Linked DNA regions of Homo sapiens: regions 1, 2, 4 and 5 are each linked to region 3. The links are contacts of gene promoters, found by promoter capture Hi-C in human tissues and cell types (Jung and others, 2019). All regions are on one chromosome and are shown on one strand. Each heading gives the region's core, a stretch centred on a gene start or on the middle of the fragment in contact. The rest is flanking DNA. Distances are from core to core; before and after follow the strand shown.

Region 1 (5,160 bases), core at 1,305-3,804, 400 kb after region 3:
GCTATGTAGCATTTCTTAGCCTTCAGTTCCTTGTCCAAATAAAGGGATAATAATAGTCGCTGCTTCATAGGGTGTGAGATACTACATGTAATGCTTTAAACCAGGGTTGTTAGTTTTACAAGCCAATCTTTTGGCTTCCCTCTGCCACATAGGAAGAATTGTCTTGGGCCACACACAGAATACACTAATGATAGCTGATGAGCTTTAAAAAAAAAAAAAAAAAAAAAAAAACCCAAACACCTCATAATGTTTTAAGAAAATTTCCAAATTTGTATTGAGCCACATTCAAAGCTGTCCTGGACTGCATGTGGCCTGTGGGCTGCCAGTTGGACAAGTTAGCTTTAAACCAAGCCCAGTGAGCTCTTAGTAATTGTTAGATATTATCATTGTTGTTTTAAATGCATAGCTGATTTCAGCAGAACATGAGGAAAACCCTGAGGGACCCAAATCAGAGAGAGAAAACAACACCTAATCAATAAGAGTAGAAGTGCTAGCCAGAGCAGTAGGCAAGAGAAAGAAATAAAGGGTACCCAAATAGAAAGAGAGGAAGTCAAACTACCCTTGTTTGCAGATGACATGATTCTATATGTAGAACACCTGATAGTCTCAGCCCAAAAGCTTCTTTTATTTTTTTGAGACGGAGTCTCGCTCTGTCGCCCAAGCTGGAGTGTAGAGGGCCCATCTCGGCCCACTGCAAGCTCCACCTCCCAGGTTCATGCTATTCTTCTGCCTCAGCCTCCCGAGTAGCTGGGACTACAGTTGCCCGCCACCACACCCGGCTAATTTTTTGTATTTTTAGTAGAGACAGGGTTTCATCATGTTAGCCAGGATGGTCTTGATTTGCTGACCTCGTGATCCACCTGCCCTGGCTTCCCAAAGTGCTGGGATTACAGGCATGAGCCACTGCGCCTGGCCCCAAAAGCTTCTTAAGCTGATAAACAACTTCAGCAAAGTTTCAGGATACAAAATCAATCACTAGCAGAAAGCACTAGCATTCCTATCCGCCAACAGCAGCCAGGGAGAGAGCCAAATCAGGAAGGCAGTCCCATTTACAATTGCCACAAAAAGAATAAAATACCTAGGAATACAGCTAACCAGAGACGTGAAAGATCTCTACAATGAGAATTGCAAAACACTGCTCAAAGAAATCGGAGAGGACACAAACAAATGGAAAAACATACCATGCTCATGGATAGGAAGAATCAATATCATTAAAATGATCATATTGCCTGAAGCAATTTATAGATTGAATGCTATTTCTATCAAACTACCAAGAGTATTCTTCACAGAACTAGAAAAATTATTTAAAAAATTATATGGAACCGGGCCGGGTGCGGTGGCTCACGCCTGTAATCCCAGCACTTTGGGAGGCCAAGGCGGGTGGATCATGAGGTCAGGAGTTCAAGACCAGCCTGGCTAATATGGTGAAACCCCATCTCTAGTAAAAATACAAAAAATTAGCTGCATGTGGTGGTGTGTGTCTGTAGTCTCAGCTACCTGGGAGGCTGAGGCAGGAGAATTGCTTGAACCTGGGAGGTGAAGATTGGAGTGGACTGAGATCATGCCACTCCATTCCAGCCTGGGCGACAGAGTGAGACTCCATCTCAAAAAAAAAAAAAAAAAAAAAAAAAAAGTCATATGGAACAAGAAAAGAGCCCAAATCGCCAAGGCAATCCTAAGCAAAGAGAACAAAGCTGACTTCAAACTATACTACAGGGCTACAGTAATTAAAACAGCATGGTGCTGGTACAAAAACAGGGACATAAACCAATAGAACAGAACAGAGAGCCTATTTTAAAAATCAGGGGTTTTAAAATCGTAGGCCACACACCTATGATAACCTGATCTTTGACAAAGCTGACAAAAACAAGCAATGGGGAAAAGACTCCCTATTCAGTAAGTGGTTCTGGGATAACTGGCTAGCCATAAGCAGAAGACTGAAGCTACATAGTACCCCTCCTTTACATCATATACAAAAATCAACTCAAGATGCGTTAAAGACTTAAACGTAAAACTATGAAAACCCTGGAAGACAACCTAAGCAGTACCATCCTGGACACAGGAATGGGCAGATTTCATGACAAAGACACCAAAAGCGATTGCAACAAAAGCAAAAATGGACAAGTTTAATTAAACTTAAGAGGTTCTGCACAACAAAAGAAACTATCAACAGAGTAAACAGACAACCTACAGAATAGGAAAAAATATTTGCAATCTGCATCTGACAAAGGTCTAATATTCAGCATCTATAAGGAACTTAAACAAATTTACAGGAGAAAAACAACCCCATTAAAAAGTGGGCAAAGGACGTGAACAGATACTTTTCAAAAGAAGGCATACATGCGACCAACAAGCATAAGAAAAAAAGCTCAATATCACCGAGCATTAGAGAACTGCAAATCAAAACCACAATGAGATCTATCATTTCACACCAGTCAGAATGGCTGTTGTTAAAAGTAAAAAAATAACAGATGCTGGCAAGGTTGTGGAGGAAAGGGAACACTTACACACTGTTGGTGGGAGTGTAATTTAGTTCAACCATTGTGGAAAGCAGTATGGTGATTCCTCAAAGAGCTAAAAGCAGAAGTACCATTTGACCCAGCAATTTCATTACTAGGTATATACCCAGAGGAATATAAATCATTCTGCCATAAAGACACATGCACACGAATGTTCATTATAGCACTATTCACATTAGCAAAGACATGGAATCAACCTAAATGCCCATTAATGATAGATGGGATAAAGAAAATGTGGTACATATATACCATGGAATGTTATGCAGCCATAAAGAACAAGATCATGTCTTTTGCGAGAACATGGATGGAGCTGGAGGCTACGATCCTAAGTAAACTAACCCAGGAACAGGAAACCAAATACCGCATGTTCTTACTTATAAGTGGGAGCTGAATGAAGATAACTCATGAACACAAAGAAGGGAAAACAACAGACATTGAGGTCTACTTGGGGGTGGAGAGAGAGAGGAGGGAGAGGAGCAGGAAAAGTAACTATTGGGTGCTAGGCTTAATATCTGGGTGATGAAACAACCTATACAACAAACCCCTGTGTCAGGAGTTTACCTATGTACCTGAATATGTACCCCTGAACCTAAAAAATAATAATAATAACAGTGGGAGCCAGCTTTGAAGCTTCCAAAAATGGGGTCAGGGAGGAGATGTGCTAGTCTCAATAACCTTGAGGGGAAAAAAGATGAGGTCTTGGCTTGTTTAGTGTAAGCAATTAGAATGGACACCCCCTACATACAATTAGGACCCTCAAAAGACTTCACCCTCAGTGCAGGAATGGACTAGGAAAACCACTGGCATGTACAGATAAAAAGAACTTTCTTAATCTCATCTGGATTTTAAATAGGGCTTTTAATAAAGGAAAGACGTCTCCCTTGAAAATTTCTACCTGTAAGCCTTCACTTAACTGAAATTGGGGGTTGGAGTTTATACTCTTTGTGTGGTCTAGAAGCTGGTTCTGGGCTGGTAATAACTCTGGCTCATCTGTCAGAAACAAACTTAACACTTCTATTAAGTGACATACCCTCAAATCAGGTATCATAGGATTCTCATAAATGCAGCTTCACTGAAGGTAAGTTTGTAGTACAAAATTACAAACCAACCAACCAATCTCCCCTAAGTGAAAATCAATAGATAAAAGAAACAGTTTGGAACTTCAGAAAGTAGCATTAGAGGGTGGGCACAGTGGCTCACAACTTTCATCTTAATACTTTGGATGGCTGAGGCGAGTGGACTGCTTGAGCCCAGGAGTTCGAAACCAGCCTGGGCAACATGGTCAAACCCTGTCTCTACAAAAAAATACGAATGTTAGCTGAGTGTGGTGGCTCATGCCTGTAATCCCAGCACTTTAGGAGGCTGAGGTGGGAGGATCGCTTGAGCCCGGGAGTTCAAGACCAGCCTGAACAACATAGTGAAGTCTCATCTCTACTAAATTTTTTTTTTTTTAATTAGCTGGGCATGGTGGTGCATGCTTGTTTTCTCAGCTACTTGGGAGGCTGAGGTGAGGATTGCTTGTGTCAGGGAGGTCAAGGCTGCAGTGAACTGTGATTGTGCCATTGCACCCTAGCCTGGATGACAGAGTGAGAACCTGTCTCAAAAAGAAAAACAAAGTAACATTAGAGATTAAGACTGTAAGATTAGTATATTTAAAATTATTAAGAATATAAAAGAAGGAGGCTGGACATGATGGCTTATGCCTGTAATCCCAGCAGTTTGGGAGGACAAGACGGGCGGATCACTTGAGCCCAGGAGTTCAAGACCATCCCAGACAATATGGTAAAACCCTGTCTCTACAAAAAATACAAAACTTAGTCAGGCATGGTAGCATGGGCCTGTGGCCCCAGCTACCCTGGAGGCTGAGGTGGGAGGATCACCTGAGCCCAGGAAATAGAGGCAACAGTGAGTGGAGATTGAGCCACTGCACTCCAACCTGGGTGACAGAGTGATCCCCTGTCTCAAAACAAACAAAAAAGAATATAAAAGAAGGAAACAGAAACAAGAGAAAAAAAGACCAAATATATTTGGACAAAAAGCTAATTAGAATTCGAGGAATAAAATATATGTATTGTGTTGTTGAAATTGAAAATGCAACAGTCGTGTTAAATAATAGAGCTGTGGACAAAGTAAAATTTTTATCAAGAGTGCAAGACAGAAATGGGAAGATATAAACTATGAATGAAAGCTAAGAAATACAGAAGATATGATCAGATGGTCCAACAGAATATGGAGAAATGGGAAGAGGCAGTATTCATAGAGATAATGACTGAGACCTTCCAGAACTGATTAGAAACAAACAAGGAACATCTTGAAGCATGGTGAGTCCCCACTATAATAAATAAAAATAAATCCCCATCTAGATACATTGCAGTACTGCAGAGCCATGAAAACAAAGAGAATATCTTAAAGAACCCTCAAGAATTCACTAAAGTAAAAGAGCTCAGCAAGAAAGTTCACTCAAGAAAATTGAAAATATATGTTCATGCAAAAACTTGTAAACAAATGTTCACAGCAGCAGCATCTATGATAACCAAAAAGTAGTAACAACCCAAATACCTTGTCATTTTATGAAAGGATTAACAATTGTGGCATGGAGAATTTATGCATGCCACAACATGCATGAAAACATGCTGAGTAA
Region 2 (5,002 bases), core at 2,466-4,965, 270 kb before region 3:
TTTTAAATAGAAAAATGCATTTTAAAACTAATATAGGGGCCGGGTACAGTGGCTCATTCCTGTAATCATAGCACTTTGGAAGGCCAAGAGGGGAGAACCTCTTGAGGTGAGAAATTTGAGGCTGCAGTGAGCTATGATTGTGCCGCTGCATTCCAGCCTAGGTGTAGTGGCACAATCGTAGCTCACTGCAGACTCAAAGTGGCACAGCCATTATATCTAGGGATTTTCTTTCTTCCTTTTCTTTTTTCTTTTTTTTTTTTTTTTTTGTTGTTTTTTGAGACAGAGTCTCCCCTGTCTTCACTCTGGAGTGCAGTGGCACCATCTTGGCTCACTGCAACCTCCGCTTCCCAGGCTCAAGCTATCCTCCCACCCCTGTCTCTTAAGTAGCTTACAACAGAGCAAGACTCTGTCCATGAAAATATAAATAAATGGCTGGGTACGGTGGCTCACGCCTGTAATCCCAGCACTTTGGGAGGCCAAGGAGGATGGATCACCTGAGGTTAGGAGTTCAAGACCAGCCTGGCTAATGGGGCAAAATTCCATCTCTACTAAAAATACAAAAGTTAGCCAGGTGTGGTGGTGCGCACCTGTAGTCCCAGCTACTTGGGAGGTTGAGACAGGAGAATTGCTGAACCCAGGAGGCAGAGGTTGCAGTGAGCCGAGATCACGCCACTGCATCCCAGCCTGGGTGACAGAGTGAGACTCCGCCTCAAAAAAAATAAAAAATAAAATAAATAAATAAAAATTTTTAAAAATTCAGGCCAGAAGTGATGGCTTACACCTGTAATCCCAGCACTTTGGGAAGCTGAAGTGGGAGGATCACTGGAGGCCAAGAATTCAAAACCAGACTGGGCAACATAATGAGACTCTGTCTCCACAAAAAAACAAATACAAAATTAGCTGGGCATGGTGGTGGGTGTCTGTGGTCCCAGCTACTCTGGAGGCTGAAGTAGGAGGATCACTTGAGCCCAGGAGTTTGAGACTGCAGTGAGCCATGATCATGCTACTGCACTCCTGCTTGTGTTACAAAGCAAGACACAGTGTCAAAAAAAAAAAAAAAAAATTACTCAAGCCCTGTCCCACACAATGTGGAAGTCTGTGCTAAAAAACTTTGTGTTTTGTATATTCCTTGGAAAAATCTCGTGTTCCCCTTATCTCTGCTTCTCCTGTTCTCCAGCTCATGATGACTTCTCTATTTGACCTAAGGTTCTTCCTTGGACCTTCCCATCTTCTCATTTATTCTCCTCACTGACCCCCTCTCTCCAACTTTCTCAGGCCTATTCCCCCAGGCTGCCCCAAACTCCAAATTCCTCTCACTTCTTCCTTTCTTGAGCAGAGCAATTCTGCTCTCTTTATCTCATACCTCCCCCTCCCTTCCTTACCCCTCCCAAGAATCACTGGCTGTTTCCTCAATAAAAAGAACCACCTGGCCAGGCGCGGTGGCTCACGCCTGTAATCCCAGCACTTTGGGAGGCTGAGGTGGGTGGATCACTTGAGGTCAGGAGTTCAAGACCAGCCTGACCAACATGGTGAAACTCCATCTCTACTAAAAATACAAAATTATCTGGGCGTGGTGGCGCATGCCTGTAATCCCAGCTACTCGGGAGGCGGAGGCACGAGAATAGCTTGAACCCTGGAGGTGGAGGTTGCAGTGAGTGAGATCATGCCATTGCACTCCAGCCTCGGCAACAAGAGCGAAAAAACAAACAAAAAAGAACCACCTATCCGTGCTGCGAATGTTGTCCCTTCCCTGGAAGTGATAATAAGCCAGGAATTATCTTTCTGAAGAGCAACATTTTTCCTTCCCACTATTACATAGAGAAAATCATTCCTTTACCATCACCATCTGCCCATCCTCTGTGCCTCTCCATACACTGTTCCCTCTGCCTGGAACACCCCACACAATCCCCAGCACCGTCACTTGGCCCATCCATCATACGAAACTTCAAGTCTCCCTCAAACATTACGATCCCCAGCACCTCTTACATTTGCTGACTGAATAAATAAGTAAATTATGTCTTCTCAACTCTCAAATACAAACAGCATTCATCTCTGCAAAAAATCTTCAGCAAAAATAAAGCAAAATTGGCTCAGATTTAATCTCACGGGCCTCAAATTTTGAGCTACCCTTATCAGTAGTTTCTCCTCCTGCTGCTTTATTTCTAGAATTGTTATTAGCTCCTCCAAGGTGAAAGTTAGCCAAGACTGGATCATACTTCCCTTTCCTTCCTCATGTTCATTAACTCCTTTAATTCCTGTATTTCCAGGATGGAGCACGCTGCTTGTCAGAAACACAGCTGTTTCCCTGTGGTCTCTGTACCATTTTGTAAGACCTTTTTGGCATTTTGGCATTTGCTCAACATTTGTGGGTTTGCTTTCCTTCCTTTGCAAGTGAAATAGCTTCAATAGTAGCTAATAGCTAACAACACAATTCTTCTGATTTCTTAAAAATTATACTCTAGATCATTTGGAAAAGAGCTGCTTTCACATCGTAAGTAGCAAATTTAGAGAAAGGAATGCTCACATTTATCGAGATGTGGTCTTAAGGTAAAAACAGGTAACTATGCACTATGGCACTAATACTTTAATAATTATTTGTGTTGTTGATTCTAATGCTATTTTCCCATAGCATTCCCATATACATTGCAGATTAGCAAAGTAAATATTTCATCAGCCCCAATCTTCTAGAAAATGTCATATGTTTAACCCCTAACATATTGGTCATTTTTGTTGTTTCCCTTTTCAGTATTTTATAAAAAACATTTTGAAGTGTTTTCACAAAGTTTACAATTTCCTTTTTCTTTTCTTTTCTTTCTTTCTTTTTCTTTCTTTCTTTCTTTCTTTCTTTCTTTCTTTCTTTCTTTCTTTTTCTCCTTCCTTCCTTCCTCTCTCTCTTTCTTTCTTTCTTCTTTCTTTCTTTTTTTGATTTTGAGATAGGGTTTCCCTCTGTTACCCAAGCTAGAGTGCTGCGATCATAGCTCACTGCAACCTTGAACTCCTGGGCTCTAGTGATGCTCCTGCCTCAGCCTCCTGAGTAGCTAGGACTACAGACACATGCCACCATGTCTGACAAATTTTTTAAATTTTTTTTTGTAGAGGCCAGGCACTGTGGCTCACGCCTGTAATCATAGCACTTTGGGAGGTCTATGCAGGCAGCTCACTTGAGGTCAGGAGTCTGAGACCAGCCTGGCCAACATGGTAAAACCGTGTCTCTACTAAAAATACAAAAATTAGCTGGGCATGGTAGTGTGTGCCTGTAATCCCAGCTATTTGGGAGGCTGAGGCAGGAGAATCGCTTGAATCTGGGAGGTGGAGTTTGCAGTGAGCTGAGATGGCGCCACTGCACTCCAGCCTGGGCAACAGAGCGAGACTGCATCTAAAAAAAAAAAAGGGGGGGTTGTGTTTTATAGAGACAGGGTCTCACTATGTTGCCCAAGCTGGTCTCAAACTCCTGGCTTCAAGCGATCTTCCCACCTCAGTCTCCCAAAGTTCTGGGATTACAGGCAACAGCCACTGTGCCCAGACTCCTTTGCCCATTTTTAAATTTAGTTATTGTTTTCTCACTATTAGGTTGTATGAGTACATGTTCTTTAATTTTTTTCCCTTGCAAATCAACACAGAATGAACTGAATAAACACCAATGGGCATCCAAATTAGCATGAAGAGTCAGCATTTTCAGCATAACTTAATGGTGGCTATTGGATCTCAATTGTAATAAATTTATAAAATATGCATTTTGTCACCACTATCAGCAACTTCATTTTTCCATTTCCCACTTATTTATATAAAATACCAGTAAAATGCACAAAAAAATCAAATAGCTGTACAAATCATCTTGTACTGACAAAGTTGGCAAAACCAGAATTGCTTAGCACAGTATGAGATAAAAATGTTCACTTATCAGCAGATGTGCAAACATTCAACATGCTTTATTTAGGCCGGGTGCAGTGGCTCATGCCTGTAATCCCAGCACTTTGGGAGGCTGAGGCAGGTGGATCACGAGGTCAGGAGATCAAGACCATCCTGGCTAACACAGTGAAACCCCATCTCTACTAAAAAAAAAAATACAAAAAAATTAGCCTGCCGTGTTGGCAGGTGCCTCTAGTCCCAGCTACTTGGGAGGCTGAGGTAGGAGAATGGCGTGAACCCAGGAGGCGGAGCTTGCAGTGAGCAGAGATCGTGCCACTGCGCTCCAGCCTGGGCGACAGAGCCAGACTCCATCCCAAAAAAAAAAAAGCTTTATTTAGAGATATCAAAGTGTAATGTACAAAATTACAGGTTGTAATTAAGTCAAGAACTACCCCTACTTCTCTTTTGACCATCTTTTTTAAAGTTAATGACACTGGTTGGTGGAGCCAAGATGGCCGAATAGGAACAGCTCCCGTCTACAGCTCCCAGTGTGAGCAACACAGAAGACGGGTGATTTCTGCATTTCCAACTGAGGTACCGGGTACATCTCTCTGGGGAGTGTTGGACAGTGGGTGCAGGAGAGTGGGTGCAGTGCACTGAGCATAAGCTGAAGCAGGGCGAGGCATCGCCTCACCCGAGAAGTGCGAGGGGTCAAGGAATTCCCTTTCCTAGTCAAAGAAAGGGGTGACATACGGCACCTGGAAAATCGGGTCATTCCCACCCTAATACTGTGCTTTTCCAACGGTCTTAGCAAACGGCACACCAGGAGAATATATCCTGCGCCTGGCTGGGAGGGTCCTACACCCACAGAGCCTCCCTCATTGCTAGCACAGCAGTCTGAGATCAAACTGCAAGGCAGCAGCGAGGCTGGGGGAGGGGCACCTGCCATTGCCGAGGCTTGAGTAGATAAAGCGGCCAGGAAGCTCGAACTGGGTGGAGCCCACTGTAGCTCAAGGAGGCCTGCCTGCCTTCCTTTGTAGACTCCACCTCTGGGGGCAGGGCATAGCCAAACAAAAGGTAGCAGAAACCTCTGAAGACTTAAATGTCCCTGTCTGAAAGCTTTGAGGAGAGTAGTGGTTCTCTCGGCACGGAG
Region 3 (5,433 bases), core at 576-3,075:
TTTTTTTTTTTTTTTTTTTTTTTTTTTTTTTTTGAGGGGCAGTCTCGCTTTGTCAAGAGGCTAGAGTGCAGTGGCTCGATCTCGGCTCACTGAAACCTCCGCCTCCCGGGTTCAAGCGATTCTCCTGCCTCAGCGTCCTGAGTATCTGGGACTACAGGTGCGCGCCACGACGCCTAGCTGAATTTTTTTTTTTTTTTTTTTTGAGATGGAGTTTCACTCTTGTTGCCCAGGCTGGAGCGCAATGGCGCAATCTCAGCTCACCACAACCTCCGCCTCCCAGGTTCAAGCAATTCTCCTGCCTCAGCCTCCCGAGTAGCTGGGATTACAGGCATGTGCCACCACGCCCGGCTAATTTTGTATTTTTAATAGAGACGGGGATTCTCCATGTTGGTCAGGCTGGTCTCTAACTCCTGACCTCAGGTGATCCGCCTGCCTCGGCCTCCCAGAGTGCTGGAATTACAGGCGTGAGCCACCGCACCCGGCCAAGTCTGATTGTTTTTATGAGGATGGCCTGATACATTAGACATTTGGTCCACCAGGACATCACTTATGTTGGGGAGACAGTGGGGGATAACGGGGGTGGGGAAATGGGAAGAGTTGCTCTCAGGGAGTAAAGGTGTGGGGAAAAGCAGAGCCAAACCGAGATAACCCTGTGTCTTGCCCATCCCTGCCAAGGAAAACACATACATGCAAGACACCTCTCCACTCAAACAGCACAGACTATTTCAAATCGCAGATGTGTCATTTAATTAATACCTGTGTGACTTTGGGAAAATTATAAATAGCCTTAACCTTGCTGAGTCTGTCCAATCTGTAAAATGGATTATGAATACTTTCCTCACAGGCTTATGGTGTGCTGGTAATATCTTCCTCTGGATGGCAGTTACATTGCAAAAAATAATTTAAAAAAAAGAACTGTATACATTTAAGATTTATACATTTTCTTTCTTCCTGGATGTAGAATAGGAAAAAAAGAAAAAGAAAAAAAAAAAGACTGGTGTATTTTCTGTATATATGCTATACTACGATTTTTAAAAAGGCTTGTACGAAATAAAAGAATATTCCTTTTCGGCCAGGCGCAGTGGCTCACTCCTGTAATCCCAGCACTTTGGGAGTCCAGGGCGGGTGGATCACGAGGTCAGGAGTTCAAGACCAGCCTGGCCAAGATGGCGAAACCCCGTCTCTACTAAAAAATACAAAAAAATTAGCCAGGCGTGGTATCGGGCGCCTGTAATCCCAGCTACTCGGGAGGCTGAGGCAGAGAATTGCTTGAACCAGGGAGGCGGAGGTTGCAGTGAGCCAAGATCGCGCCACTGCACTCCAGCCTGGGCGAGAGCGAGATTCCGTCTCAAAAAAAAAAAAAAAAAAGGAATATTCCTTTTCCAGGATTATTATGAAGATTCAATAAAACCATGTTTATTAAGTGTTAAGCACAGTGCCTGGCACATAACGTGCTGGGCGGGGTCTATGGTCCAGACAGGGGGACCAGGCACTTTCCAGCGCCTGGATCTGCAGACGCGAGGTCTTCTGTATTCTGGCCAATCTTGGTGTTGCAGCTGCTCTCTGGGCCTCAGTTTGCTTGAACTAAATGTAACGGGGCCAACTTAGGTGAACTTTGGGAATCCAGCCAACCTGACTTTAGGGAGAGTATGGAGCCACGGATGGCATTGTGAATCCGGAGGGCCGACACCAGAAGAACCTGCAACGTGGCATCTGCTACCTTACTTCCCCCGGAAAAGCGCCTGCGGCGGCGCCTAGGCGCGCGGTGCAATGTGGGCCAGCAAAAGGCGAGGCTGGCCCCGCCCCTTGCACCGCCCACGTGGCCAGCGCCACCTGCCTCATTGTGCCCAGGAGTTCTCCAAACCCGCGCTGCGGAGTGAGTGACCAAGTTCCGGCCAGTTCGACCTCGAGGATCCAGAGGTGGAGACGGTACTACCTCCCAGCTCTGTTTTCCATCCCCTTCAGGTCCTTCCTCGGGAGGCGGCGAAGGCGGTCCACCCTGCGCGTGATCCTTTATGCCCGGCCCCTGCCCCTCCCTCCGGGTGGAACTTCCCCCTCACCGCCAGACTTAAGCTGAGGATCGTTGGATCTCTGGCGGGGTGCAGAACTGAGCCCAGGCCACAGTACCCTATTCACGCTCTGTGCTTGTGCCAAGGTGAGTTTCTCTTGCTGCTGGCCTATCTTTCTCCCGGAGGAGATGGCCTCGATTCTTTACTACTGAAATGTAAGCCCCTGGGGTTGAGTGGAGAGCGCAGAGCACTGGAGGGGACGAGACTTGGTTTCGGATTTGAGCTCTTCTTTTTCTCTGTATGATCTCTTGCTAACTTCCCAGTTTCTCTGAACCTGTTTCCTCAGCAATAAAATGAGGTCCTACATTAGAACTGTAGCAAGAATTGAGATAAAGCTTTGAAGGCGCACAGCGCATACTAGGTGATCTGCAAGTTTTAATTGCCATCTTTTTGTTTGCTCACCTATGTGCTTTTTCCAGCTGCTCCGGCTTTCTTATGCAGGTGCAGGGATAGTTCTCAGAAGTGGGGAGAAGTGGGGATAATTCTCTTACTTAGACACCTGCTTTGGGTCTGAGAAAGTCTGACATGTTATTCTGTTGCCCCAGAACTCTGTTAAAGTAAGACACAGATCTGAACCTTCACTGGATGAGGCTACTGTTAATTAACTCTTCCCCTTCAGATCGTTCATACTCAGGGCTGCAGGCCTGTTACTTTTCCAAGATCTGTTTCCTTATCTTTAATACAGGAGCAATCTCAGTATGATTCTATCTGGTCCACTGGGATTTTTTGCCGAGTATAGTAAAGTGCTTTGATATTCTCCAAGAGGATTCTTTTCAGGTTTTCCAACAGGTAAAGGAAGAAGGTGACAGAGGCAGCGACTTCCTCAAATGTCCTTCCAGCTGGCCAAACTCAACCTGTCAAGATCTCTCCCCCATAAGCTGTGTGTGTGTGGTGTGTGTATTGTGTACATTGTATGTATGTATGTATGTATGTATGTATGTATGTATGTATGGGACAGGTACTCTAGGAGTGAGGGGTTCAGGCAGATGACAGGCTCAGACCTCAAGGAGTAGCCAGGTTTGTGGGGGAAATTTATATATAAACAGAAAAATGTAGTGATGTGCACATGCTATCAGTACATGGAAGTAGCCATCCATTTATTTATTTATTTATTTTCTTTTTAGAGATGGATGGGGGTCTCTCGGTCTTTTGCCCATGCTGGAGTGTAGTGGTGGAATCCTTGCTCAGTGCAGCCTCAAACTTCTGGGCTCAAATAATCCTGCCACCTCAGCCTTTGGACTATAAACTACATGCCACTGTGCCCAGTTAATCTTTAAAATAAAAAAAAAAAAATTCCCCCTAGCAAGCAGACTCAGAAAGAAAAAAACAAATTTTTGTAGAGACAGTGTTTCCTTTTGTTGCCCAGGTTTCAAGTGATCCTCCCGCCTCAGCCTGCCCAGGTGCTGAGATTACATGTATGAGCCACTGCACCTGGAAAGGAGCCAGAAATGTGAAGTGCTAGCTGAAGGATGAGCAGCAGCTAGCCAGGCAAAGGTAGGGTTTGGGGAAGGAAAGTGCACACACCTAGAGTCAGGTAAGTGATGTGACCCTGTTGAGTGTTCAAAGTCTGGAATACAGTCTGACATGAGGAGGTGGTGAAATGAGAAAGATAGAAGCCAGGTTTTGAGAAGCCTGGACTTTATCCTGAATATAGGGGAGAATTGCTGGAAGGGTTTGAGACTGGGAGTCACATGGTTGGATCTGGTGATGGACTGCGGGAAGAGGGACCACTCTGGAAGCCAAGATCTGTGGTTTAAGTAAAGAGTGATGGTCAGCTGGGCACAGTGGCTCATGCCTGTAATCCCAGCACTTTGGGAGGCCAAGGTGGGTGGATCACCTGAGGTCAGGAGTTCGAGACCAGCCTGGCCAACATGGTGAAACCCTCTCCGTACTAAAAATACAAAAAGTAGCTGGGTGTGGTGGCACACACCTATAATCCCAGCTACTGGGGAGGCTGAGGCAGGAGAATCACTTGAACCCGGGAAGCAGAGATTGCAGTGAGCCGAGATCATGCCACTGCATTCCAGCCTGGGCAACAGAGTGAGACTCTGTCTCAAAAAAAAATTTAAAAAGGCTGGGCACAGTGGCTTATGCCTATAATACCAGCACTTCGGGAGGCTGAGGCGGGCAGATCACGAGGTCAAGAGATGGAGACCATCCTGGCCAACATGGTGAAACCCCGTCTCTACTAAAAATACAAAAATTAGCTGGGTGTGGTGGCATGCGCCTGTAGTCCCAACTACTGGGGAGGCTGAGGCAGGAGAATCGGTTGAACCTGGAAGGCGAAGGTTGTAGTGAGCCGAGATCACACCACTGTACTCCAGCCTGGCGACAGAGCGAGACTCTGTCTCAAAAAAAAAAGAGTGGTGGTGGTCAGAGATGGGGCAGTGGCAGTGGAGGTAGATATGGATGGACTAGAGAAAGATTTAGGAATATATATTTTAAAATTCTTTTCACATACATCAAGAAGTACAGGAAGCATTATTGCAATCTTAGGTCTTAGGTTACATATTAGAGCATTCTCTTTTTCTGTAGCTATTAAGTATTAACAAGATTTAAAACCCAGCTAAACTGACAAAATCTGGCCAACATTACATATGTAAGGTGATTTTCCAAGCTGGCTTTTCTAGAAGTATAGGAGAGGCCGGGTGTGGTGGCTCATGCCTGTAATCCCAGCACTTTGGGAGGCTGAGGTGGGCGGATCACGAGGTCAGGAGATCGAGACCATCCTGGTTAACATGGTGAAACCCTGTCTCTACTAAAAAATACAAAAAAATTAGCTGGGCATGGTAGCGGGCACCTGTAGTCCCAGCTACTCGGGAGGCTGAGGCAGGAGAATGGCATGAACCCGGGAGGCGGAGCTTGCAGTGAGCCGAGATCACGCCACTGCCCTCCAGCCTGGGTGACAGAGCGAGACTCCGTCTCAAAAAAAAAAAGAAGTATAGGAGAAAGCCAGGTGTGGTGGCTCACACCTGTAATCCCAGCACTTTAGGAGGCCAAGGTGGGAGGGTCACTTGAGGCTAGAAGTTTGAGGGGGCAACACAGTGAGACCCTATCTCTACAAAAGAAAAATAAGGCCAGGCATAGTGGCTCACACTTATAATCCCAGCACTTTGGGAGGCTGAGGCAGAAGGACCACTTGAGCCCAGGAGTTTCAGACCAGCCTGGGCAACAAGGAGAAACCCTGTCTCTACGAAAAACACAAAAAATGAGCTGGACATCGTGGCCCATGCTTCTAGTCCCAGCTACCTGGGAGGCTGAATGGAAAGGATAGCTTGAGCTTGGGAGGTGGAGTTTGCAGTGAGCTGAGATCACACCACTGCCCTCCAGCCTGGACGTTAGAGCGAGACTCTGTCTCAATAAA
Region 4 (5,132 bases), core at 1,078-3,577, 270 kb after region 3:
TTGCAGTGAGCCAAGATCACGCCATTGCACTCCAGCCTGGGCGACAAGAGCGAAACTCTATCTCAAAAATAAAAAGAAAAAGCTATCTTGACCTTTGATTTGTTGGTGTTATTAAACTGTTCTTTTATTTTATTCAGCTTGAAAGGAGACTTTAATTTGTGCATTTTCCCCTTCAGGGAAACTTTTATGGATTTTTTTATTAAGTAACTGGCTTAGAAGATAGAATAGTCTCCCTAGGTTTTAGAATGTAATTAAGAAAAATTCAGCCCAAGGGAACCATGTGTTAAAATTAGGTGATACCATCTTAGTTGTACCAGCTTGAGTGTAGGTTCCTTAAGAGTGAACCTGAGTAGTAGATGCATATATCCTTTAACCATTAATTTGTTGGAGATTAATAAGCTACATCGTTTCTTTGCCGTTATTTCAGCAAAGCAGAAGTAATATAGTTTTGTCAGATCTTCTTTTTTTTTTTTTTTGAAACTGTCTCCCAGTCTGGAGTGCAATGGCGTGATCTCGGTTCACTGCAACCTCTGCCTCCCAGGTTCAAGTGATTCTCCTGTCTCAGCCTCCTGAGTAGCTAGGACTACAGGCACATGCCATCACACCCAGCTAATTTTTATGTTTTTAGTAGAGATGGGGTTTCACCATGTTGGGCAGGCTAGTCTTGAACTCCTGACCTCAGGTGATCCACCCTCCTCAGCCTCCCTAAGTGCTGGGATTACAGGTGTGAGCCACCGTGACTGGTCAGACTTTCTATCTGTTAGGCTTTCAGGAATGTTTTGAAAAGCAGAGGATTTAGAAATAGTTGTTAATAGTTTTTTTTTAAAGTCCTTAAGTTATTTCATAGGGGTGTTACCAAGGTGATTTTTGTTTAAATGACCCAGGAACATTTAAGTTCTACCTTTAACCAGTAAGAGAAAGTGATACTTTGTGACTAGCTCAGTCTTTGGTCTTTTATATTAAAGAACATTACTTGCTGTAACTGATTCACAAGGACCCCTTGATTGAGGTGCTTCCATTTTCTACACATGGCTTCCAAGTTCAGCTGAGGAAAGTGGAGGATGGGCCAATCCTAGAAATGGATTAATCACTTCCACTCATATTCCATTGCCAGAACTCAGTTTCAGGGCCATGCCTAACTACTGGAGGGCTGGGAAATGTCATGTGGCCTGTGCCTAGGAGGAAGGTGAATCATGCTTGATCAACATCTAACTAGTCCCTGCCACAGGACTCAAACCCCAATGTAGTCCTTAGCTTAGAACCATACAGAAATCCATTTATTTTGGTTATAGACAGCCTGGAACCATAGCCTCCTCTTTTTCCTTGTAGACACACAGAGTTTTGAGTTATAACAATTTTGAATGCAAGTAAAGGCCTTTTTCCCAAGCACAGATAGGAGATCTGGAAAAGCTTTTCTGCAGCCTGTGGCAGAGGTAGTCTCTGGCAACCCCAAGAAAGGCAGCTTGGTATTGGGGGTGGGGGGGAGAGAGAGAGAGAAAGAGAGAGAGAGAGAGAGAGAGACCCAAGTCCCTTCAAATACCTGGAAAGTCTTCCCAAGAATAACAGATGCAAACAAGCCCAGATCGCAAAGGCTACAATGTATATTTAACTCTTCAATGCCCAGACACTGACAAATACCCACAAGCGTTAAGACCATTCAGGAAAACATGACATCACCAAACAAACTACGTAAGGCACCAGGGACCAATCCTGGAGAGATAGAGATACATGACCTTTCAGACAGAGAATTCAAAATACCCATTTTGAGGAAATTCAGAGAAATACAGGATAACACAGATAAGGAAATCAGAATCCCCTAAGGTAACTTCAGCAAAGAAATGGAAATAATTAAAAAGAACCAAGCTGAAATTTTGGAGTTGAAAAATGCAGTTGATATACTAAGGAATGCATCAGAGTCCTTTAATAGCAGAACTGATTAAGCAGAAGAAAGAATTTATTTATTTATTTATTTTTTGAGATGGAGTCTCGCTCTGTTGCCCAGGCTGTAGTGCAGTGGCGTAATGGCTCCCTGCAACCTCTGCCTCCCAGGTTCAAGCGATTCTCCTGGCTCAGCCTCCCAAGTAGCTGGGATTACAGGTGTGTGCCACCACACCTGGCTAATTTTTTTGTTTTTTAGTAGAGACGGGGTTTCACCGTGTCAACCAGGATGGTCTCGATCTCCTGACCTCGTGATCCACCTGCCTCGGCTTCCCAAAGTGTTGGGATTACAGGCGTGAGCCACAGTGCCTGGCCCCAGAAGAAAGAATTAGTGAGCTCGAAGACAGGCTATTTGAAAATACACAGCCAGAGGAGACAAAAGAAGAAAAAGATAAAAAGGAATAAAAAGCATGCCTACAAGATCTAGAAAATAGCCTCCAAAAGGCAAATCTAAGCGTTTTGGCCTTAAAGAGGAGGTAGAGAGATAGGGGTAGAAAGTTTATCGAAATGAATAACAACAGAGAACTTCCCAAACTTAGAGAAAGATTTCTATATTCAAGTATAAGGTTCTAGAATGCCAAGCAGATTTAGCCCAAAGAAGACTATCTCAAGGCATTTAATAATCAAACTTCTAAAGGTAAAAGATGAAGGATCCTAAAAGCAGTAAGAGAAAAAACACAAATAACATACAATGGAGCTTCAATATGTCTGGGACCAGACTTTTCAGTGGAAACCCCTTACAGGCCAAGAGAGAGAGGCATGACATATTTAAAGTGCTGAAGGAAAAAACTTCTACCCTAGAATAGTATATCTGGTGAAAATATTCTTCAAACATGAAGGAGAAATAACGACTTCATAAGACAGAGAAGTCGAGTAATTTCATCAACACCAGACCTGTCCCACACAAATGCTAAAGGGAGTTCTTCAATCTGAAAGAAAAGGATGTTAATGAGCAATAAGAAATCATCTGAAGGTACAAAACTGACTGGTAATAGTAAGTACACAGAAAAACACAGAATACTATATTAATAACAATAATTATGGTGTATAAACGACTCATATCATGAAAAGATGAATTGATCAAGAATAATAACTACAACAACTTTTCCAGACATAGTATGGTATTAGGTTGTTGCAAAAGTAATTGTGGTTTTGGACTGTGAATTTTAAATCATTATAACTAGGCTCAAACACATCTTTATTAATCAAAATAGGAACCATTACAATCAACACATTTTCGCCAATGAGAAATGTTTGTTCTTGTTGTGTAAAAATCCATGCTTTGGGATTTGACGAACTCTTGGAAAGAATGTTCTGCATCCTGCTGGTCATGGAAATGTTTTCTCTGCAAAACGTTGTCGAGATGCTTGAAGAAGTGGTAGTTGGTTGGTGAGAGGTTAGGTGAATATGGCGGGAGGGAAAACTTCATAGCCCAATTCGTTCACTTGTTGAAGCTTGGTTGTGTGATGTGCAGTTGGGTGTTGTTGTGGAGAATTGGGTCCTTTTTGTTGACCAATGCTGGTGTCAGGCGTTGCAGTTTTTGGTGCATCTCATTAAGATTGCTGAGCATACTTCTCAGATGTTATGCTTTCACTGGGGTTCAGAAAGCTGTAGTGGATCAGACTGACAGCAGACCACCAAACAGTGACCGTGACCTTTATTTGATGCAAGTTTGGCTTTGGGAAGTGCTTTGGAGCTTCTTCTCAGTCCAGCCACTGAGCTGGTTGTCACAGGTTGTCATATAAAGTCCACTTTTCCTTGCATGTCACAGTGTGATCGAGAAGTGGTTCATTGTTCTGTAGAATAAGAGAAGATGACACTTCAAAATGATGATTATTTGATTTTCACTCAGCTCATGAGGCACCCACTTAACGAGCTTTTTCACCTTTTCGATTTGCTTCAAATGCTGAATGACTGTAGGATGGTCGATGTTGAGTTCTTCGGCAACTTCTTGTGTAGTTCTAAGAGATGATTGCTCACAATTGGTCGTTGTGAACTTCCGATGGTCGGCCACTACACTCCTCACCTTCAAGGCTTGCCTCCTTTGCAAAACTTTTTGAACCACCACTGCACTGTACAGTTGTTAGCAGTTCCTCTCCAAATGCATTGTTGATGTTGTGAGTTGTCTCCTTTGCTTTACGACCCATTTTGAACTTATTCAAAAATTGCTCATATTTGCTTTTTATCTAACTTCATTCCCATAGTCTAAAACATAAACAGCAAGTAAATAAGTCTCTAGCCAAAAAACATAAAAAATGAACATTAAAATGATGTATAATATAATGACATTTATTTAAGAATGTATTCCAAGACCGGGCATAGTGGCTCATGCCTGTAATCCCAGCACTTTGGGAGGCTGAGGTGGGTGGATCACCAGAGTTCAGGAGTTCGAGACCAGCCTGACCAACATGGTGAAACCTTGTCTCTACTAAAAATACAAACTTAGCCAGGCATGGTGGCACACACCTGTAATCCCAGCTACTTGGGAGGCTGAGGCAGGAGAATCGCTTGAACCCAGGAGGCAGAGGTTGCAGTGAGCCGAGATCATGCCATTGCACTCCAGACTGGGCAACAAGAGCAAAGTCTGTCTCAAAAAAAAAAAAAAAAAGAATGTATTCCAATATCAGATGACAAATTCTAATCATGCAAACCACCGCAATTACGTTTGTACCAACCTAGTAGTACTGGAAGTCTTAACTATGGTAATTAGACAAGAAAAAGAAATAAAGGGTATCCAAATTGGAAAAGAAGTCAAATTATCCTTGTTTGCAGATGATTTGATCTTATATTTGGCAAAAGCTTAAAGACTTCACCAAAAAACTATTAGAACTGATAAATTTAGTAAAGTTGCAGGATCCAAAGTCAACACACAGAGATCAGTAGTGTTTCTGTATGCCAACAGTGAACAATCTGAAAAAATCAAAAAAGTAACCCCATTTACAGTAGCTGCAAATAAAATACCTAGGGATTAACCAAAGAGATGAAAGATCTCTCTAATGAAAACTATTAAACACTGATGCAAGAAATTGAAGAGGACATTAAAAAAATGAAAAGATATTTCATGTTCATGGATTGGAAAAATCACTATTAAAATGTCCATAGTACCCAAAGCAATCTACAGATTCAATACAATCCATATTCAAAATACCAATGACATTCTCCACAAAAATAGAAAAAACAATTCTAAAATTTAC
Region 5 (5,560 bases), core at 1,922-4,421, 320 kb after region 3:
TTAGCAAAGAGCAAGCCAGCTTCTAGTCTATCACTAAATGTTTTTGAGAATTGACATAATGAAGATTCTAGTGTAAATCACTGAGCTAATCAATCAACCTGTGATGGTTTAGTCATGAAATGTAGCTATTTCTGTTGTTTTCATTTTGTTTATTTGACATTATTTATAAAGCACTTTTTTTGTACAAAATACCTAAGGATTTTAAAATTATCATGAATTAACATTATTTTAGTTTCTTTAAAGTTCTCAGGTAGAAAATGTATAGGATTAGTAAACTTAAAATATAAATTTAAACAAATTGTATTGTTTCTAGTTATTATATGTACTTCTTATTGATGGTGCTGTAAACATTCAGAGCCCGTAGGGAGAACCCACTGAATCTTTAGCAGTTGACCAGTATGACCTGGGCTTTAAAAGTCAATAACATAAACTCCAGCGCCTTATACTAATTTCTCCTGTTAGCACAGTTGATTCGATGAGATTTGTCCCTTGATTTCTTGGGGTTATTTTGAGTAGTATTTATTTAGTACTGTACTCAGATGACCTCTCATAAGTAGTGATGTATGTTCAAGCAGCTGCTAATTAAAAATGGCTGGCTCTGTAAGCCCATTTAGTTGCACTGCTTATTTATATCTTTATTTCTCTTTAGTTGCTAGGATTCAGAAAGGGAATCCTATTTGTTGAATGGGAAATATTTTCTGTTTTGTGTTAAATCATTCATTTTCTCCCTGATGCCTGAGTCAGTCTCTAGTATTTGCTACCTTGTTTACTGATGCCCTTCCTCTCGAGTCTTTGTTTCTATCTAGCAGGAGTTCTAAACTGCCAGATTACATAGCACTGGAAGATCTTTTCCTACAGCCTTATACTTATAAAAAATTTTTCCCCTATTTATTTTGTCTACTTTTTTTTTTTTGAGATGGAGTCTCACTCTGTCACCCAGGCTGGAGGTGCAGTGGCGTGATCTTGGCTCATTGCAACCTCTGCCTCCCAGGTTCAAGTGATTCTCCTGCCTCTGCCTCCGGAGTCGAGTAGCTGGGGCATTACAGGCATGTGCCACCACACCTGGCTAATTTTTTGTATTTTTAGTAGAGACGGTGTTTCACCATGTTGGCCAGCCGGGTCTCAAACTCCTGACCTCAGGTGATCCACCCGCCTCGGCCTCCCAATTGCTGGGATTGCAGATGTGAGCCACCGCACCCAGCCTATTTTGCCTATTTTTAAAAAATAAACTTTAAGGTTCATTCTCCAGAAGATTGCTTTGGAACATTCCAAAACAGAGCTAACGCTTGAAAAGCAGCAGTTTAGATTATTTGTTTTAAATAGTTACATTATAATATAAAGATTTAAAGGTAAGTTTTATTAATAGATTTATATAAATAAACACACAAAGGTAAAGTGTGCCTGGTGGTACAGGTAATCTACTGGGTAACCTCAGATTTGAAGGTGAAAATCCAAATAAATATTTGGCTTCGCTAATTGCTTTCTGGTGAAATAGATTTCCTAAAACTTTTCCAGAAGATCAGCTAAGACACAGCCTACTTTGATACCTCCAGGTTTTTCCGCAGAGTTTCTTGGGGAGGTAGCAGAATAGTAAATAGGGCATTTAGAAGTTCCGTGACAGCAAAGACCTTGTCTATTTTGTTCAAATTACAGTTCTGCCATGTTCTAGTCATATAACCACAGCCAAATTTCATTTCATTTCTGTACTCCACTGGTATATTGAGAGTAGACAGTGGAGGCAAGGGCTGCAGCAAAAAGACCAATTATGAGACTGTTGTGGTCAAAAAAAGCAAGAAATAATAACAGATTGGAGGGGTGATAGCAGTGGACGATGTGGAGGACTTTCTTATTGGCCATTTTTACAGATACGTGAAGCTCAGTAGCTTCCTCAAGGACAGACAAGTAGGTGTATGGCCAGGCTAGATGTATAGGTTAGGGTACTCTGAACTACAAGTAACAGAAATTTTGACTCTGAGTGGTTTAAATGTTAGGTAAATGTATTGACTCACAACAATGAAGTCCAGAGGTTGGATGGGTTTCAGAGTTGGGTAGTCTGGTGTATTTGCTCAGCTTCATTGCTCTTTTGCCTTCCTCTGTGTTTTGGCCTCATTCTCAAGCTTGCTTCCTATGTGTTAGAAAAAGAACTGTAGCAGTTTCAGTCTGCACAGTCACACACTACAACATCCCTACATCTTAATGGTAAAAGGACATCTGGGAGATTATGTGTGAGCATCTTTTCTTTACACTGGAGGAGCCTCTGTCGGTGTAGGAATTGACACTGTTTTGCTTGAAAAGCTGTTCAAGTTGGGTCTTTTTTGTGGTAAAAATTGGCTTTCATCTTACATCTACTTTTGAAGCATCTACACATGGAGAGACATTTGAGATTGAAGTTCCTTGTGAATTGAAGGAGGTGCTTTTATACTTGCCCTGTTTCCCAATCAACTTTATGGGGGATGATTTTAACTTTGAAAGGTCAGGGACTAGCCACCATAAGCAAATTTTTGTTATCAACTCTCTTAGTGCCATAATTTCCACATTATTTGCCCATAAGGCACATATAGTAATCTGTCTTCATTGTATAGACAGTGCAATTTCCCAGGTTCTGAATTGAAAATATTTGTTGTGCTGATAAAATTATTGCCTTCAGGCAAAAACTAAATTGTATAGTATTTTTATGCACCCCCCCCAACCCCCTGCTTGCTTTTTGCCTTTGCTGTTCAAAAACGAGAGTACTTAGAGTGTCATTGTTTACGGGTACTTAATTATTTTGGAGGATATATGACAACATAATGCATACTGGGAAGCATTATTATTGAGAAAGCCTTGGGACTTTTTTTATTTTGCAAATTATGACTGTCATAAATTATGGTCATCTTACAAAATGTGATTCAGCTAATTTTTAGTCTTTAAAAACAAAATCTTCAAGAACCAGGTAGATTTCAAACATTCAATTTCTTCTTGAAATTTCATTTTAAAAAGGCTGATGACATGGATAAAAATGTAACCTAATTATTTGCTTCTGTTGTTCTACATTTCCTTGTTCTTTTCTGTGGGAAGCTTGATAAAAGAAACATTTCAGTTTGTACTCTTCAGTTTTTAGTACCACTAAGATATTTTCATCAAGTCAGTAAATTAGATGGCTTTGAAGGTTAAGGAATTTATCTCACTCTTGTCCCTCTTCTTTGCCCTGACTCATGTATTCCTATTCTATGTTGCAGCTACACCAGTCTTGTACCTTTGTTTGTTTTTTTCATAGTCATTTTTTTCTGACATTCCCCCCATTCCTGAGTGGTTTTATCCTCCTTTTCTACCTATCAACCTTCTGATAATCCCCATGCAGTTAAAACCTGAGTACCTAATTTTCAAATATTATAGTCATTATGGGTAACTCCAGTATCTTTGTAGACAAGGATAATCAGTCCAGCCTCAGATCTTTAGAGTTCCTTGGCTATCTGGAGTCTGTGTTAACAATACATTCCTGTAGATGCCATGTATTCTGTAGAGGGAACTGTTTGATTCAGAAATCTTACAGTGATTTACAGTTACATCCCTTGATCACCTCTGAATTAAATTCTGGTGTTCTCTGTGTAAATCTAGATCACAAATTGGTGGTCTGGTGACTGTTTCCTGTAGATATATTTTATTTAGCCACCTTTGGAGATTTAAAGAAAAATCAACCAACATAGTCTCTATCAGTCCCCTTTTGTTTTATCCTCTGCTGCTTTATGTATTTACTGAATTTCATCTATTCTAAGGCTCACATCTTTTTACTTTATAACAGCTTTGAAATAGCGGTGTTACTCTTGATGGTGTGTTATACGTTAATTGGCCAGGCTTATTTTTGTTTTGCATTTTAAAAAATGTTTCTTACTGTTACAAAAAATAACAGTGTCTTTTGCAATTGATAGTTTTTCAGATTTGATAAAGTACAGTATATTACCTTACTGGCTTATTAAAGCATTTGAGTTTGCACCATTTGTTTCTCAATGTAAAGACCTCCACCTTTTTTTAGCTCTCTCCCTTTCCTTTTTCTAAAGTCTTGAAGATCTCTGTTCCTGTGATTCTTTTGTTTGTTTGTTTGTTTGTTTGTTTTTGAGACAGAGTTTTGCTCTTGTCACCCAGGCTGGAGTGCAATGGTGCAATCTTGGCTCACTGCAACCTCCGCCTCCTGGGTTCAAGCGATTCTCCAGCCTCAGCCTCCTGAGTAGTTGGGATCACAGGTTCCTGCCACCATGCCTGGCTAATTTTTGTAGTTTTAGTAGAGACAGGCTTTTGCCATGTTGGCCAGGCTAGTCTCGAATTCCTGACCTGAGGTGATCTGCCCACCTTGGCCTCCCAAAGTGCTGGGATTACAGGCATGAGCTACTGCGCCCAGCTTTTGATTCTTTGTATACCTGTTTGACATGCCTTTCTGTATCATCTGATATTGTTTTATTTTTTCTCAATTTATTTGAGGTATATAACATTTGTGAATTTTTTATTGTATAACCACATTCACATTTTGTTGGTAAACCCAACTCAGGAATAATGTATGATTCAGTTTTTTAAAATGCTCATGTATATAATGTAAGTTTCCTACTTTTCATCTTGAGGTAGTTTTGGTAAGGTATATGTTTTTAAGAGTTTGTCCATTTTGTTTATTTTGTTATTTATTGAGATCAATTTGTTTATATATATATATATATAAAATTTTTGTTCTTTTAAACCTTTGCTGATTTGTTCTTCTGTTTCTCTTTGTATTTCTAATATTGGGTATTAAGACTCTTTTTTTTCATTATCAAGTATCAGTGGAATGCCGAGTACAGTGGCTCATGCCTATAATCCCAGCACTTTGAGAGTGCCAGGTGGGTGAATCACTTGAGCCCAGGAGCTGGAGACCAGCTTGGGCAACATGGTGAGATGTCTGTACAAATTAAAAAAAAAAAAAATTTAAGTAGCCAGGCGTGGCGGTGCACACCTGTAGTTCCAGCTATTTGGGAAGCTAAAGTGGGAGGATCGTTTGAGCCTAGGAGGTCGATGCTGCCGTGAGCCATGATTGTGCCCCTGTACTCCAGCCTGGGTGACAGCAAGACCGTGTCTCAAAAAAAATTAAAATAACAACAACAAAAATTCATGGAAGATTTTTTTTGTTGTTGTTAGTTTTTCCAGAAACCAACTATCCCTTTATTTCAGCCTTTTCATATCAGTTTGCTTTTGGTATATCTCTTGCAAATGGCATACAGTAGGTTTTCTTTAAAAAAAAAAAAAAAAAGTCCTGTTTGTAATGAAAAGTTTGTCTGTGTACATTTATTATGATTAATGATATATTTGGACTTGTTTGTGCCATATTATTTTTTGTATTCCATATCCTACATCTCTATGCCTTACTGTCCCCTTTTTTTTTTACCCTTTAAAAATATTGGTAGAGTTTTTTTTCTTATTTTCTTTTTCTATTTCTACTGGTGTGTTAGAACAAATTCAAACTTTAACCCCCTCCTGAACACTACAAGCACTCCATGTCTCTTATTACCTCCCCCAAACTTATTTGGCCATGTAATCAAACTGAACTGAAACAGGCCAG

The links. Contacts are between HindIII fragments. The study calls those that stand out against the background at their distance.
Region 1: a fragment that was not itself captured here is called in contact with the fragment with the promoter of AKR1A1 in region 3 in 1 of the 25 tissues and cell types used here (neural progenitor cells).
Region 2: a fragment that was not itself captured here is called in contact with the fragment with the promoter of AKR1A1 in region 3 in 1 of the 25 tissues and cell types used here (hippocampus).
Region 4: a fragment that was not itself captured here is called in contact with the fragment with the promoter of AKR1A1 in region 3 in 1 of the 25 tissues and cell types used here (bladder).
Region 5: a fragment that was not itself captured here is called in contact with the fragment with the promoter of AKR1A1 in region 3 in 1 of the 25 tissues and cell types used here (adrenal gland).

Annotation. Positions count from the first base shown.
Region 1 is chr1:45,947,101-45,952,260 of GRCh38, forward strand. All of the region lies in intron 4 of MAST2 (microtubule associated serine/threonine kinase 2), which reads left to right. Among named protein-coding and RNA genes, the nearest start is that of MAST2, 150 kb to the left of the region's middle. The HindIII fragment of the contact is 3,569 bases long and covers 771-4,339 here.
Region 2 is chr1:45,280,218-45,285,219 of GRCh38, forward strand. No RefSeq gene overlaps it. Among named protein-coding and RNA genes, the nearest start is that of LINC01144, 21 kb to the right of the region's middle. The HindIII fragment of the contact is 3,771 bases long and covers 1,831-5,002 here.
Region 3 is chr1:45,549,001-45,554,433 of GRCh38, forward strand. AKR1A1 (aldo-keto reductase family 1 member A1) reads left to right here and starts at 1,826. Exons shown (of 9, transcript NM_153326.3): 1 at 1,826-2,155. RefSeq lists enhancers at 1,509-1,568, 1,619-1,848, 2,079-2,298. The HindIII fragment of the contact is 19,939 bases long and covers 1-5,433 here.
Region 4 is chr1:45,814,724-45,819,855 of GRCh38, forward strand. The region is part of intron 1 of MAST2 (microtubule associated serine/threonine kinase 2); the gene reads left to right. Among named protein-coding and RNA genes, the nearest start is that of MAST2, 14 kb to the left of the region's middle. The HindIII fragment of the contact is 3,473 bases long and covers 592-4,064 here.
Region 5 is chr1:45,865,847-45,871,406 of GRCh38, forward strand. All of the region lies in intron 3 of MAST2 (microtubule associated serine/threonine kinase 2), which reads left to right. It overlaps LOC105378694 (a long non-coding RNA gene), which reads right to left. Exons shown (of 5, transcript XR_001738038.2): 5 at 2,038-2,125. Among named protein-coding and RNA genes, the nearest start is that of MAST2, 65 kb to the left of the region's middle. RefSeq lists a silencer at 1,891-2,185. The HindIII fragment of the contact is 5,380 bases long and covers 482-5,560 here.